3 separate regions of the Homo sapiens genome follow, and regions 2 and 3 are each linked to region 1. The links are contacts of gene promoters, found by promoter capture Hi-C in blood cells and fetal thymus (Javierre and others, 2016). All regions are on one chromosome and are shown on one strand. Each heading gives the region's core, a stretch centred on a gene start or on the middle of the fragment in contact. The rest is flanking DNA. Distances are from core to core; before and after follow the strand shown. Region 1 holds the start of CLOCK (clock circadian regulator). Region 2 overlaps KIT (KIT proto-oncogene, receptor tyrosine kinase). Region 3 has its middle 130 kb from the start of KDR.

What was found. Contacts are between HindIII fragments. The CHiCAGO score rates a contact against its expected background, and 5 or more counts as called.
Region 2: a fragment that was not itself captured here is called in contact with the fragment with the promoter of CLOCK in region 1 in 2 of 17 cell types (M2 macrophages and M0 macrophages); the score reaches 6.6 in M2 macrophages.
Region 3: a contact is called between a fragment that was not itself captured here and the fragment with the promoter of CLOCK in region 1, in 1 of 17 cell types (endothelial precursors). The highest score is 12.2, in endothelial precursors.

What each region holds. Positions count from the first base shown.
Region 1 is chr4:55,544,437-55,548,999 of GRCh38, reverse strand. It overlaps CLOCK (clock circadian regulator), which reads left to right and starts at 2,091. Exons shown (of 23, transcript NM_004898.4): 1 at 2,091-2,218. It overlaps LOC124900704 (a long non-coding RNA gene), which reads right to left and starts at 3,135. Exons shown (of 2, transcript XR_007058122.1): 1 at 2,390-3,135; 2 at 1,111-1,384. RefSeq lists silencers at 1,816-2,185, 2,246-2,345, 2,466-3,095. The HindIII fragment of the contact is 4,589 bases long and covers 1-3,729 here.
Region 2 is chr4:54,661,518-54,666,080 of GRCh38, reverse strand. All of the region lies in intron 1 of KIT (KIT proto-oncogene, receptor tyrosine kinase), which reads right to left. Among named protein-coding and RNA genes, the nearest start is that of KIT, 5.8 kb to the right of the region's middle. The HindIII fragment of the contact is 558 bases long and covers 2,210-2,767 here.
Region 3 is chr4:54,994,255-54,998,817 of GRCh38, reverse strand. No RefSeq gene overlaps it. Among named protein-coding and RNA genes, the nearest start is that of KDR, 130 kb to the left of the region's middle. The HindIII fragment of the contact is 628 bases long and covers 1,876-2,503 here.

The sequences.
Region 1 (4,563 bases), core at 842-3,341:
GAGATCATGCCACTGTACTCCAGCTGGGCAACAGAGCAAGACTCTGTCTCAAAAAATCTGTCTCAAAAAAAAGACATATCCAGTACATTTTTTCTTTTCTTGGAGAGAATGTGGGAGAAAGGAGAAGCTGTGAACTGAACCATGGGAAATGTTCAAGCAGTGAGAGAGGACTGAGCAGAAAAACGGGGGATTATCAACAGGTCTTGGTAAATAATTAAATACAGTGAAAGAGGGAGGAGTCAAAGATGGACATGGTTTGATCTTGGTGACTGAGAGGACAATGAAATCATTAAAAAGGGCAAAGGTATTTTGAAGATAATATGTTCTAGATGATGGGGAATATAAGGAGGGATCAGTGTCTCTAGAATAAAATTCAAAAATCCATCCTAGGGAAAGCATTCAAGCCCTCTCTTGTCTGGCTGCAACCTACCTTATCAGTATTAATAACTTTGCCTCCGTCTTGCTACCTACCTCTTGTCAGTCGGGACTCTTGATTACATGTGAAAGAAAACCTCTCACTGGTTTAAGCAATAAAACAGATGCAAGAATTTACTGACTGGTTTAACGAAATTTCCAGAGGAATCTAATCTACATTTGTTTCCAGGCCTCAAACATGTCTTTAGGCCAAACCTGTCTTCAAATCTGCTTTTTTTCCGTGTTGCCTTCTTTCTCAGAATTCACGTGTGGAAAGATGGCTCCAGGTCTCCATTCTCCCAGATTTAAACCCATTGGTAAAGACGTAACACCCTTCTTAGGAACCGTAGTTTGCAACCGAGGATTAAACTCAAATATGCCTTCCCCTTGTGTCCTGCTCAGACCATATGGACTGAGAGTGGATAAATGATAGTTCTTCAAAAGAAATTATCAGAATAGGGAATGAATGCTGAACAGGCAAAAATGTCGACCAAAATATCTTCTGCTATATGATGGGGTAAATTAACAAATCATGTTTTCCCACTCCTGAAAGAAAAATCCTTAGGTGCAGGATCAAGGATCTGAATAAGTGCTTCAGTTTGATGTTCTTTTGCCCAGAGCATACAGCAAGAATTGAAAATGTTTACTGAGGTGACTGTTACTTTAAAGGGAGGATTTTACGGCCAGAAAAGTGCATTTTTTGAAAGAAAAAGATGGCTTTTATTTCAAATCCAAAAGATATTCATTAAAACATAGGAATTACTAGGAATTAAGACTGTAAAGATCTCTTTTCCAGTAGAAGCACTGAAATGTGCTTTCTCATGTGGACCAAATGTGCCTTAACGCATCAAGATAAGTAATTTCCCGAAGATAAGTAGTAGTCACACGTTGTTCCAACGAGGAAATCCATGCAAATTAGGGTCCTGGTTTATTTCTGATGCTTCATTCTCCATCTTCCATTACACTGTCACTTGATTTTTAATAAAAGGGCAAGGGAAAAATCTCCAAATGAGCAAATAAATCCCGACCTCCTTTCGCTTCCCTCCTCTGGCCGAGGGCGCATGCCCTGTCTCCCCAGGCCCACCCACCAAGAAGAAGCAACCCAAGCCGCGCTCCCTCAGGAGATGGGAGAAGATGTTACTGGCGGTCCAGGCGCCTTTGCAACTCTTCTCTCCCAGCACCAGGAGAGGAAACACGAATGATGCCACTGGGGGAAAAAGTCTCCTGCCAACACCCGAAAAATCTAAGCTGGCGTCGGCAGTGTTTTGCTTTGGAAGGGAGAGCGGGTTCCTTTTCTGGCCTCTGGATCCCTCATCCGGCAGGAAGCTCTTCTTCCTCCTCCTAGCCCCCGGCATACGGGGGGAAAGCCAAAGAGCCTCCAGGACCTAAGGCTAGCGCTCTGCCGGCCGGCCGCGCCCTCCACCCGACCAGGCCCCGCCTCCCCGGCTTTCTAGTAACCGGCGCCGTTCCCGGCCGGGGCAGGGAACGGTGCGCCTGCAGAGCCAGATTTCGGCCCAAGGGGCGCGGGAGTCTCTTCGGGCGTCCGGGATCCCCTGGCGCGGCTCCGTGCTGCCTAACGGGGCAAGTCGCATGCGCACCGAGCCGCGCTGGGGAAAGGGAGAGTGAGGGGAGGGGCGAGCGCAGAGCCTCCGCCGGCCGTCTGAGCCCGCGGGGTCGCTGACGACGCATGCGCCGGGAGGGGGCGCAATCACGGACTCGGCTTGCGGCTGCCGGTTTAAAAAAGGAAACCCCGGAGAGCGAGAGCGCGAAGGAAATCTGGCCGCCGCCGCCGCGAGCGCTCCCGGTGAGAGGCGCCCGCCCGGTGGGCCCAGGGCCTGCCGAGTGCCGGTTGGCTTCCTTGGCGGCGCATGCGCGCTCCTGGGCTGGTGGAGGAGGGGAAGGGAAGGGAGGGGGAGGAGGAGCTGGCCACAGGAGCGGCGAATTTTTGGGGGGGTGGGTGGGGGGCGCCACTCACAGCCCCAGGTGCTGCTGGAGGTGGGAGCCGCGGCGCCTCCTGGACACAGGCGGGGTAGTGGTTCCGAGTCACCGCAGCGGGAGACCTGGGTGGGGGAGGGAAGAAGCCGGAGCCGCCGCAAGCCACACGGTGAGGGCGCGGGGAAGGGGAGGGAGCGGGGGGCGGCGTGTGTGGGGCCGGGGGGCGGCGGCCAAGGGTGGGGAAGGCGGGAGCTGAAGCCCAAGTTTGGCGTGTCGTTCTAGTGTGTCTTTTCCCGGGACTTCGGGCCGAGGCCCGCCCTGCCTGAGAGGCCCTCTGGGGCAGCTGGGGTTACCTGCGGGGCAGGGGCGGGAGTGGGGTGCACGGCGGGGCCGGGCGGCTTGAGGGCGCCCGGAGCTGCGGCCGATTCCAGCAGCTGGGAGGCGGGGAAAGACGGGGACCGGGTGCCGAGAGAGCTTTCGCTGGGGACCCGCTAGGCCTTGTGACCCACTTTATTCCTGTCACCACTCGGGCACGTTTGGAGCAGCGCCCAATGGGGCGCCGGGGCGGCCAGCTCCTCCGGGGAACCCCCGCCCTCCCGGCGCCCGGCCCGCGTGCCGCAGTCCGCAGTCCGAACGGCCGCCGTTGCCGGCCGCGGGCTGGTTCCGTTAGTGGTGGTGGTTCCGGGGTTCCGTTCCTAGGCAGCGCGCGGCTATTAGCGTCTGACTCCAGCGACCGCGCGCGGGTTCGAGGGTTGGCGGCGAGGCGCTCGGTTTCTCTTCTTCCGTCCACCCGCGCTTCCCGTTCCCCGTCACCGCCGCTGGCGTTTGTAGATTTCTTTCCGCCAGTGAAGCTGGGTTTTCTGGAGTTGGCTCTGGCGCTCTGGCCCCTGGAGTGTAATTTCCTACACGCAGCGCCGCAGAGTTTATATTCTTTGAAAGTGTTTGTAGCTTTGTAGAGGTCCTCTTGTTGATGGTAGGTGAGCCTAATTCTGCAAGATAAAAGCCTAGTCTCTGACCTGGCAGATGAAAGATCAAATCAGATTGTGGTTTCCTGCTATTAGAATGCCGTGCTATTAGACTTTAAGGCTTTTTAGCCTTCTTTAAAAAATAAAAAAATTTTTACAGTGGAAGAAAAGCACAAGAAGTAAACTTTTACAGTCGTTGATTTGACTATAACGCTGATCCCCCCAAATCAAAGGTAATTTCACTTTGAAGATTGCGTTCTGATTTGTAGCTTTAAGCGATTAGAGAAAATTGTGCAATATTCCCCTCTACCTGTTTGAAAATAAACATTCTTAAAAGGATGTAATTTAGATAATGAATTGCTTTCTCTGAAACTTATCCCTTGGGACACCTCAAATCTGATTGGTTTTCAAAGCTTGGGGGAAGGAAATTAATTCCTGTGATAAGTGGTTGGCTGAACAGAATGTCTTGAAAGGTTAGCCTGTAGCATTAGGAGAAATACCTAATGTAAACGACGAGTTAATGGGTGCAGCACACCAGCGTGGCACATTTATACATATGTGACAAACCTGCACGTTGTGCACATGTACCCTAGAACTTAAAGTATAATAATAAAAAAAGTAAAAAAAAAAAAAGTTAGCCTGAAGAAAGCAGACTGAAAATGTTCTAAAGCTAGGCGTAATCAGTTATGAAAAAAGAATAAGGAAGCTTTCTACGTACTAACATGCAAAGATTGCAAAAATTTGCTATGAAGTGAAAAAAGCAAGGTGTAGCGGTACTTTGTGAATAGTGTGTTACATCTTAAGGGCGAGGTGTAATAATACAAGTTTATGTTTGCTCTTTATATAAAGAAATTATGGGAGGATTTAGAAAACTAACAATAGAGGAGAGGGAGAAATAGTCTGAGGGAATGGTGGGAAATGAGATGTATTATGTGTATGTCTTCATGTTTTCAAATTTTTGTGTGTATTATGGACTCATAAACTGGATTAAACAAAAATCCTCCTCCCCCAAATAATTTGTGTGATTTTTGTTGCCTAATTTATGGTGATTTGAGTCATTTTCAATATGATTGCTTTTCATATTTTTTAGGAAAATCAACTAAAAAGGAAGTTTGGGATACCTTTTATGACTATTTACACTTTAATTTTTAAGATTGCAGAGGTCACAGGCATTTATCTTTTAAAGATGTTTAGTTATATCTTGCCTTGCTAAAATATATGACTGTTTACATTTGGCATTATGGCTGGA
Region 2 (4,563 bases), core at 1,239-3,738, 880 kb after region 1:
TTTCGTCAATTCTATGTCCTCCTCTATACCCAGTATGGCCATTTTATTCTGAGAAAAACAAAAAACATACCTTAAACATGGCCTAATGCAGAGAAGAATACAGGATTCTCTTCCTAGTATACACTCCTTTTCATGAAAACTTACTTTTCACCATAAGACTGGTTCACAGTTAACATACCATTCTTTATAATCCCCAATGCTACCGTAATATTATAGAGCCATGTTTTGTGACTTTGGGGTTTAGTTTTATTTCTTACAGGGACCTGACCCTAAGATTTCATTGACGTCTTCCCTCCATGTCTGTGAAATTGAGTTTCAAGAAAATGCAGCTCACAAATAATCAATGAATAAACCCAGCAGAGTCCAACATCATATTCTCTCCCTCAAATAGGCCACCCCTCCTCTTGGCTTTATTTCCACTAATTCCATAGTATCAACAATACTCCCAGTTACCTACACCCATGATAATTCCAGTTCTCCTTCCCCTCAATCTCATCAGTGCCTGACACACAGAAGGTGCCCATAAATACGCCGAATGAGAGAAGACCTGCACCTTTATCCTCCTCGTGTCTCTTAAGGGCGCTTTCTTTCCAAAGCATGTACCCTAATACCCAGGTCCACTACCCCTTCACTCAGAGATAATCTAAAGAGCCCATCTTCTGCCCAGCTCCCCAACATGTAGCTCGCAGCCATGAGTTTAACCCTCCTAAATAGTCTCCACGAAAAATCTCCCTTAGATACTTACATGCAAATGTTCATTACAGCATTGTTTGCAACCCAAATGTCCATCAAAGGAGGAACAGGTAAACAGAATGTGGTCTATACATACAATGGAATATTTTTCAGTCTTAAAAAGGAAGAAAATTCTGACTTATACTACAATAGGGGTGAACCTTGAGGATGTTACGGTATGTGAAATAAACCAGTCAAAAAACAGACAAATTCAGTATGGTTCTGCATTTGCGAGTTACCTGGAATAGTCAAATTCAGAGACAGAAAGTAGAATGGTGGTTGCCAGAAGCTGGGGGAAGGAGAGGGGAGCTGCTCTTCAATGGGTATAGAATTTCAGTTTTGCAAGATGAAAGTGTTCAACAGTATGAATGTACTTAACACTATTGAAATATACATTTAAAGATGATTAAGGTAGTAAATTTCATTTTATGTATGTTTTACTATTAAAAAAAAAAAAAACAGGCCAGGTGTGGTGGCTTACATCTGTAACCCCAGCATTTTGGGAGGCTGAGGCTGGGGGATCGCTTGAGCTCATAAGTTCGAGACTATTCTCTACAAAAATAGAAATAAAAAAATTAGCCGGTGTGGTGGCACACGCCTGGGGTCCCAGCTACTCAGGAGGCTGAGATGAGAGGATCACTTGAGTTCAGGAGGTGGAGGCTGCGGTGAACTATGATCGTGCCACTGCACTCCAGCCTGGCAACAGAGCAAGACCCTGTCTCATAAATAAATAAATAAATAAATAAATAAATAAATAAATAAATAATAAAAACAGACTCTCCCTTAGTCTTGGTTGCCCACAGCAAGGGAGTGTCCAAGTTTTAAGGCAGGGCTTGGCCTCTCGCTTCGTCAGACTATTGGAACAGGCTGGGGAGTATGTCTAATTGGACAGAATGGTGGAACAGGCAGCCCTGGACTAGTATGCAAAGCCTGGGGGGCCACTCCTGGGTCAAGTCCACCTTAGCCTTGACTTCAAAGCATTCTTCATAACCTAGACCAAACTCAGCACTAAATACACATTCCCTCCATGCTCCTTGAGGCTAGTAAGAGGAGTCTTACCTTCCCAGCCAATTCCCTACCCCCAGCCATCATACCAATAGAAAGGTTTGATAATCCTGAAGTAAGATCCTAATGCCTTGTTCCTTGTACTGTAGTTTTTTTCAGCTGAAGCCACAACTACACTGCCCTCTTCCTTTAAGGTTCAGAAATTAATCTCAAATATTATCTCCTATGTGGATGCTCTTACTGATTCCTGATCTCTATTACCTGCCCATCAAGATTTAAGCTCATCTCCTTGAAAATCCTGCCCAGAGCACTTTACACTTAAGAAAACCAAATTCTACTTCGAATCAGGGGCTGTGCTCTTGCCCTGGCCCTCCTCCACCCCCAGCCTGTAACGTAGGACCAAGGCATGGGGATTGATAAGCCTTTGTTAAACTGAATCCAAAATGTTTACTGACCATTTATGTTCAAAGCTTAGTGTAAGTGCTGGAGAATAGAAAAGATGTTAAACTAATACTTACTGAACACTAACCGCTGTGTCTAGCCTGGGGCAATGGACAAGTTCAGCTTGGTCCTTGAACTCCTAGTGAAAGCAGTCATGGAAAAGCTCCTTGACTGCTTTCATGGACCCTAGGTGAACTACATGTACTTATTCACCTACAGAAAATGGCCATTTGCAGACATTCCCCCAACCTAAACTTTTATCAAGAAATTTGTATCTCTTTTGGTGGAAAGTAACCCAAGAATACGGCTAAACAAAGAGCCAAGCAGATAAACATGCATTACCACTAATTAACAACTTCATCTTAATACGAAAAAAAAAAACCACTCTACATATTCTGTTTACACGTTTTCAATTTTTTTCTAAGAGGCAAAGCTGAAAGGGGAACATAAGAAAATCAGCCTGATAGTGGAGTCCACACACTTCCTCTATGCGGGGCACTATGCTAAGCATATTACATGCAGAATCTCATTTAATCCTCGCAGGGGCCCTATGTCATCATCTCCATTTTACAGATGAGGAAATGAAGCTTAAGGAGAGGTTAAGTGTCTTGTCCCAGAGCACACAGCAGGGAAGAGGCAGAACTGGAATAAAAATCCAGCGTGTCAATTTCAGAGCCCAAGCTCGTAATTAACTGATGCCACATGTCCTGAATAATAATTTGGCTTAAACCTTAAATTTTGCAAAAATGTTGAAAACCTGTCAGAAAGGTATGCATGGGAAGATGTCTAACAAAAGTGTGTCATAACCAAAATGTAAGCATGAAAGCTAAAACATAAGATGAATGGGAAAAGTACCAGACACAAATGTTATGTTGGAGAATCTTACAAGATGTGTAGTTTTTTTTTTTCCCCCCTGGAGAAAAAAAAAGTTCAAGATCTATTCAATCTCTAGGACTAGTGATTTCCTAACTCTTATCAAAAGCTAAATAAAACAAGACCAAAAAAATTAAAGCTTATTTTTAAAACTGTCGGCCAGGCATGGTGGCTCATGCCTGTAATCCTAGCACTTTGGGAGGCCGAGGCAGGTAGATCACCTGAGGTCAGGGGTTCGAGACCAGCCAGGCCAACATGGTGAAACCCCATCTCTACTAAAAGTACAAAAATTAGCCGAGCATGGTGGCGGGTGCCTGTAATCCCAGCTACTCAGGAGGCTGAGGCAGGAGAATCGCTTGAACCCAGGAGGTGGAGGTTGCAGTGAGACGAGATTGCGCCATTGCACTCCAGCCTGGGCAACAGGGCAAGATACTGTCTTTAAAACAAACAAAAAAAATGCCTTTCTAATCTTTAGGGCAATCATCTTAAAAGAGTAGGCATTATTCCCATTTTAGGGACAATAATAATTCCTGTTTTACAGACGATAATTATGGCTAACACATATTGAGCCTGTACTATGAGGCACCACTCTAAAAGTTTTACATGTAGCAACACATTTACTGGCACAGAGAGGTTAAGTAATCTGCCGAAAGTCACAGAGCTAATAAGTGGCAAAACTAGGATGGACAATGAAAGCTCAAAAAGGTTAAACAATTTGCTCTAAGGCCATCAAGCTGTCAGTCATGAAGCCATCAGACCAACACAAGGTAGGCCGGCCTGTCTCCTCCCACTTGTCATCTGCCTGGTCCCAGGGGCATATTTGGATTCCTGCACTCACCAGGGCCCAGTGGGGAATGCCTAAGGGATGGCAGGATAAAGCCCTAGAGCCTAATGCAACCTGAAGAGCACAGGCCTCATCTACAGGGGCCATGACCTTCAATTCTTAAAGAGGAGACAGAAATAGAGATCTTGATTTAAAAAAAATCTCTAGATTGTTTAATATCGCCTCAATGTTTTCTAAAAAGCATCATGTAGGCCAAAGAAAACATGTCTCCTCGGGCTATCAGATTACAACTGCTCTTTACTTATTAAGAGTCTTAGGTCAAAAGATGAGCTGTATGATCACATCCAAAAAATGTCAGAAATCAGAGCTGCTGGGCCAAGCCGACTCAACTCAATTCCTCTCTATGACTCAACTCAATTCCTCTCTAAGTACAACAAAGATTTACACTGGATTTGCCCTCCAGGCAAACTTTTACCTCCTCTAACTCTTCCCCAGGCCTTCTTCAATCCGGACTTATAGCTGTGGCAATATCTATTCAAGTTACCAAAACTGCACATGAAATTTGCATATTTGGATTCCTGCAAATGTCATTCAATCTCAACTTTTAAAAGTTACCGCACATTAATGCAGCAAAAGAAAGCATTTCCCACATCCTAGCCTGCCAACTCTTAAACTACATTCATTCTGAAGAAAAAGCTGCCACAGCCTTGACCACTACCTTGAAGGGG
Region 3 (4,563 bases), core at 940-3,439, 550 kb after region 1:
TATTAAAATATTTATCCTGATGGTAGTTTTTTGGTGTCCTCTTAAATGTTGCTTCTCATTCATCTCACCCTGATTCTGGTCTTGCCTATGCCATTGATCATTGAGAAATACTCCCATATATGGTCACACTCACCCCTCATAGCAACCCAATAGGTAGGTATCACTAGCTGCATTTTGTGGTGTAACAAACTGAGCAAACTGAGACAGATTAAGTGCCTGCCAAACTTTATGCAGCCAATTGAAAAGTTTAACCTGTTCAAGTTGATCTTGAACACAGGCTACATTCTTGCCACCAAAGCATAGCTGCAGTCCAAGGCAATAATACAAAGACACTATAGGGAATCAGGTAAGAGTGGAATGAAATACATGAATAAAATTCATCTGAAGAAGTATTATGATTGAAATGGAGATCATGAGATGCTTAATGCAAGGCGACTGTAGTGGTCTGAGCAGTATTGCTTTCCATGGAGTATTTGATAGGTAACTCTCAAAAAGTTTGTTGAATCAAATATTTTCACTTTTCTTATTCTGTATTCTTTGCACCAAAGAAACATCTTTCTCAACAACTTATTTAAGCCATTGACTAGATTTGGCATGCAAACCAGTTCAATGTGTCAAAATCCTACTTGTGGCTGGGTGCAGTGGCTCATGCCTGTAATCCCAGCACTTTGGGAGGCCGAGGCAGGTGGATTACCTAAGGCCAGGGGTTCGAGACCAGCCTGGCCAACATAGTGAAACCCTGTCTCTACTAAAAATACAAAAAACATTAGCTGGGCATGGTGGTGGGCGCCTGTAATCTCAGCTACTTGGAAGGCTGAGGCAAGAGAATCGCTTGAACCCAGGAGGTGGAGGTTGCAGTGAGTCGAGACTGTGCCATTGCACTCCAGCCTGGGCAACAAAAGCAAAACTCCATCTCAAAAAAACAAAAACAAAAACAAAAAACAAAACAAAACAAAACAAAACTCTACTTGTGCACTCCTGGTCCATCATAGCAACCTGCTTTAAGTATTCATTTATTCCTTAGTTAAAACCAGGAATTAGTTTTCCTTGGATACACACCATCAAAGCCATTTTTAATTAAATTCTTGGCAGAATGCAGGGAGAAACATTTGATTAGCCAATCTTCATGAGGATGATATTCATAAGTTGTGTGGAAAAATTGTTTTCATTATTTAATAATTATAGCCCATTCTCTCTCATATGCTTATCTGCATATAAACATATATGCAGCATATAAACAATCTGAAGCATATAAACAATAATCTGAAAAAAAAAAAAAAAACCTCAAGACATTTGGATTTTGGCCACAGGTAGAAATGCCCCCAGATAGCCCTTGCAATGCAATCTTTTGCACTAAGCATATTTAGGAAAGCAGGAGGCTCTTCCTTTGAAGTGCTTAGTTTGGAATTTAAAAAGTGCAGCCTTTCATTCAGGAGACTGGTGGATAAATATATGCCATAGAAGACCCATGAAAGGGAAAGCCTCACCAGCTTCTTCACACATGTGCTTTTCGTCTGGGTTTCAGCGATGCTAAGAGAATTCAGATTTATACGTGAATTCTATTTGTCTTGTTCAACTTTCAGTGCAGAGAGAACAGCCATTTATATGAAATGAATGCATGGAAAAAGTTGTTTCAAGAAAAATGATTGTGATAGAGATATTCTCTGTAGATACCTCTGGGGAATTGGCTGTTATTAAATATTATTGAATAACATAGTTAAATGTTCCCAAAGGGAAAGTTTCATATAAATTTAATGTCCCCAATGAACTATTCATTATTTATTTATTCAATACATATTGATGGTTTAGGAATGTTCTAGGAGCTGGGGATACAGCAGTGACTAAGGCAGGCCACATCCTTGTCCTCTTGAAGCTTACATTCTAAGGGACAGACAGGCTGGTATGGTTTGGATTTGTGTCCCCACCCAAATCTCATTTGAATTATAACCCCCTATATTGGAGGTAGGGCCTGGTGGGAGAGGATTTGATCATGGAGGTGGATTTCCCCCTTGCTGTTCTCATGATAGTGAGTGAGTTCTCAGGAGATCTGGTTGTTTAAAAGTGTGTGGCATCTCCCCCTATCTCTCTTCCCTCCTACTCCAGCCATGTAAGATGTGCCTGGTTCTCCTTCACCTTCCGCCATGATTGAAAGTTTCCTAAGGCCTCCCCAACCTGTACAGCCTGCAGAACTGTGAGTCAATTAAACCTCTTTTCTTTGTAAATTACCCAGTCTCGCATATTTCTTTATAGTAGTACAAGAACAAACTATTAATAGTACACGGGCTATAAGAAAACAATTAATGGAATAATATAATTTCAGGTGAAACATGAAAAGCATAAATCAGGGTTAGTGATAGAGATTGATGGGATGGTTAGTCAGGCTATTGCAGCAGGATATCCTGGGAATATCTTTCTAAAAAGGGACATTTGACCAGATATTTGGATAATATGAATGCTTAAGCTGTGTGAGAATCTGGAGGATGTCTTCCAAATGGAAGAAGCTTTTAGAATGTGAACTCCATGAAATGAGAAACTTTGTTGTGTTCACTGTTGCATCCTCACATACTCCGCATTTGATACATCCTTGTTGAATTTTTGCTCATGAAAGACCTTGTTGTGGGAACGATTAAACAGAGCAGCATGTTGGAGCTGAGGGAGTAGGGGAGGAATCAAGTTGTAAAGTTGTCATTGTTCCCGGTGTCTTTACTAATAGAGCCTCTTTCAGTCTCAACACTGCCTGGTTTGGATGGATAAATTATATGTCCACTTTCCTAACAGGCTATGGTAAGGAGTTTGGATGTAATCGTGATGGGAAGTCAGCAGAAGACTCTGAGTATGGGAGCAGTGTTATTTTCTCTGTTAAAAATAGATCTTTGTGGAGATAAATATATTATGGAGGTGGCGGTTGGGGGGTGTTAGGCAATAGTGGAAATGAGGTGACAGTGAGGACAGTTAGTAGGTAATTACAATGATCCAGGTGAGAGATGATAGTGATATGGACGAGGGTGATAGCTGTGGAGGTGACAAAAGTGGGCAGATTGGGAATATAATTTAACATAAAGATGGTAGTCTTGTTGAAGATTTTAATGTGAAGTAGTAGACAACGAGAAACCAAAGAAAACCCCTAGGATTTTGGAGATACTGTAGGAGACCACAATTATACAACCTTGAAGTAAATGAACCTTCTACTTTGGGCAGGTTAAATTTGAGGTCCACAGTGAACATTAAAGCAGAGATACTGAAGAAGAAGTTGTATACACAGGTTTGGAGGCCTGGTAACGATGTGGAATTCATCAGTATATAATTAATATTTAAAGCCATTGGACTGAATAGGATTTCCTAGGAACTGAGTAAGGATGGAGAAGAATGAGGACTGGGTCTTGGAGCACTGCAGCATTTAAAAATAAGAAATGAAAGAAGCTAATGATGTCTCAAAGGATATTGAGATATACGAGTAATTGGGAAATTAATAGAAATAAACACAAAATGGGCCTTAGTTTAAAGTCAAACATCATAAACCTAAAAAATTTATATTTTAAAAAAAGAATGTGTACTTTTTAAAGAAAGGAGAAAAGGCGAGAAAAGAGAAAAGAAGCACACATCATAAAAAATACAATAAATTGAAAACATAAAATAAGGCAGAAATGTTATAGTATTAAAATTATTATAATGAATACAAATGGTTTAATTTTATCAATATAAAGAGAGAATTTCAGAATAATAAAAAGATTATAACAATTTGCAGTCTGTAAGAAACACACTGAAATAGGATATCAAAAATTTGAAAATAAAAGGATGTAATAAGCTATATTAGATAAAACATGAATCAAATTAGATGGAGTGGTATTATAATATCTGAAAAAGCAGAATTCAAGGTAAAATATGTCATAAGACACAAAGAGGATGTATCTTGGATAAAAGAATATGGAGTAATAACATGTAAACATTAATAAACCACATAAATACCTATGAAGTAAACTATATAACCTCAAGAAATACTATGCAACAACTTGAAAAAGTTTAGGGAGAATTACTAAGTCAACTATTATAATTGGAAGTGTTAATATTTCCCTCGCAAAAATGATAGATCAAACACACAAAAAATAATCAGAGCTTTAGAACATGTGAATAATACAATTAATGATCTTTAGACATTGTGTGTCCAGAATTGGTGGGTTCTTGGCCTCACCAACTTCGAGAATGAAGCCGCGGACCCTAGCGGTGAGTGTCACAGTTCTTAAAAGCAGCGTGTCCAGAGTTTGTTCCTTCTGATGCTCGGATGTGTTCGGAGTTTCTTCCTTCTGGTGGGTTCGTGGTCTCGCTGGCTTCAGGAGTGAAGCTGCAGACCTTCGTGGTGAGTGTTACAGCTCATAAAGGCAGTGTGGACCCAAAGAGTGAGCAACACCAAAATTTATTGCAAAGAGCAAAAGAACAAAGCTTCCACAGCGTGGAAGGGGACCTGAGCAAATTGTCCCTGCTGACTGGGGCAGCCTGCTTTTATTCTCTTATCTGGCCCCACCCACATCCTGCTGACTGGTCCATTTTACAGAGAGCTGATTAGCT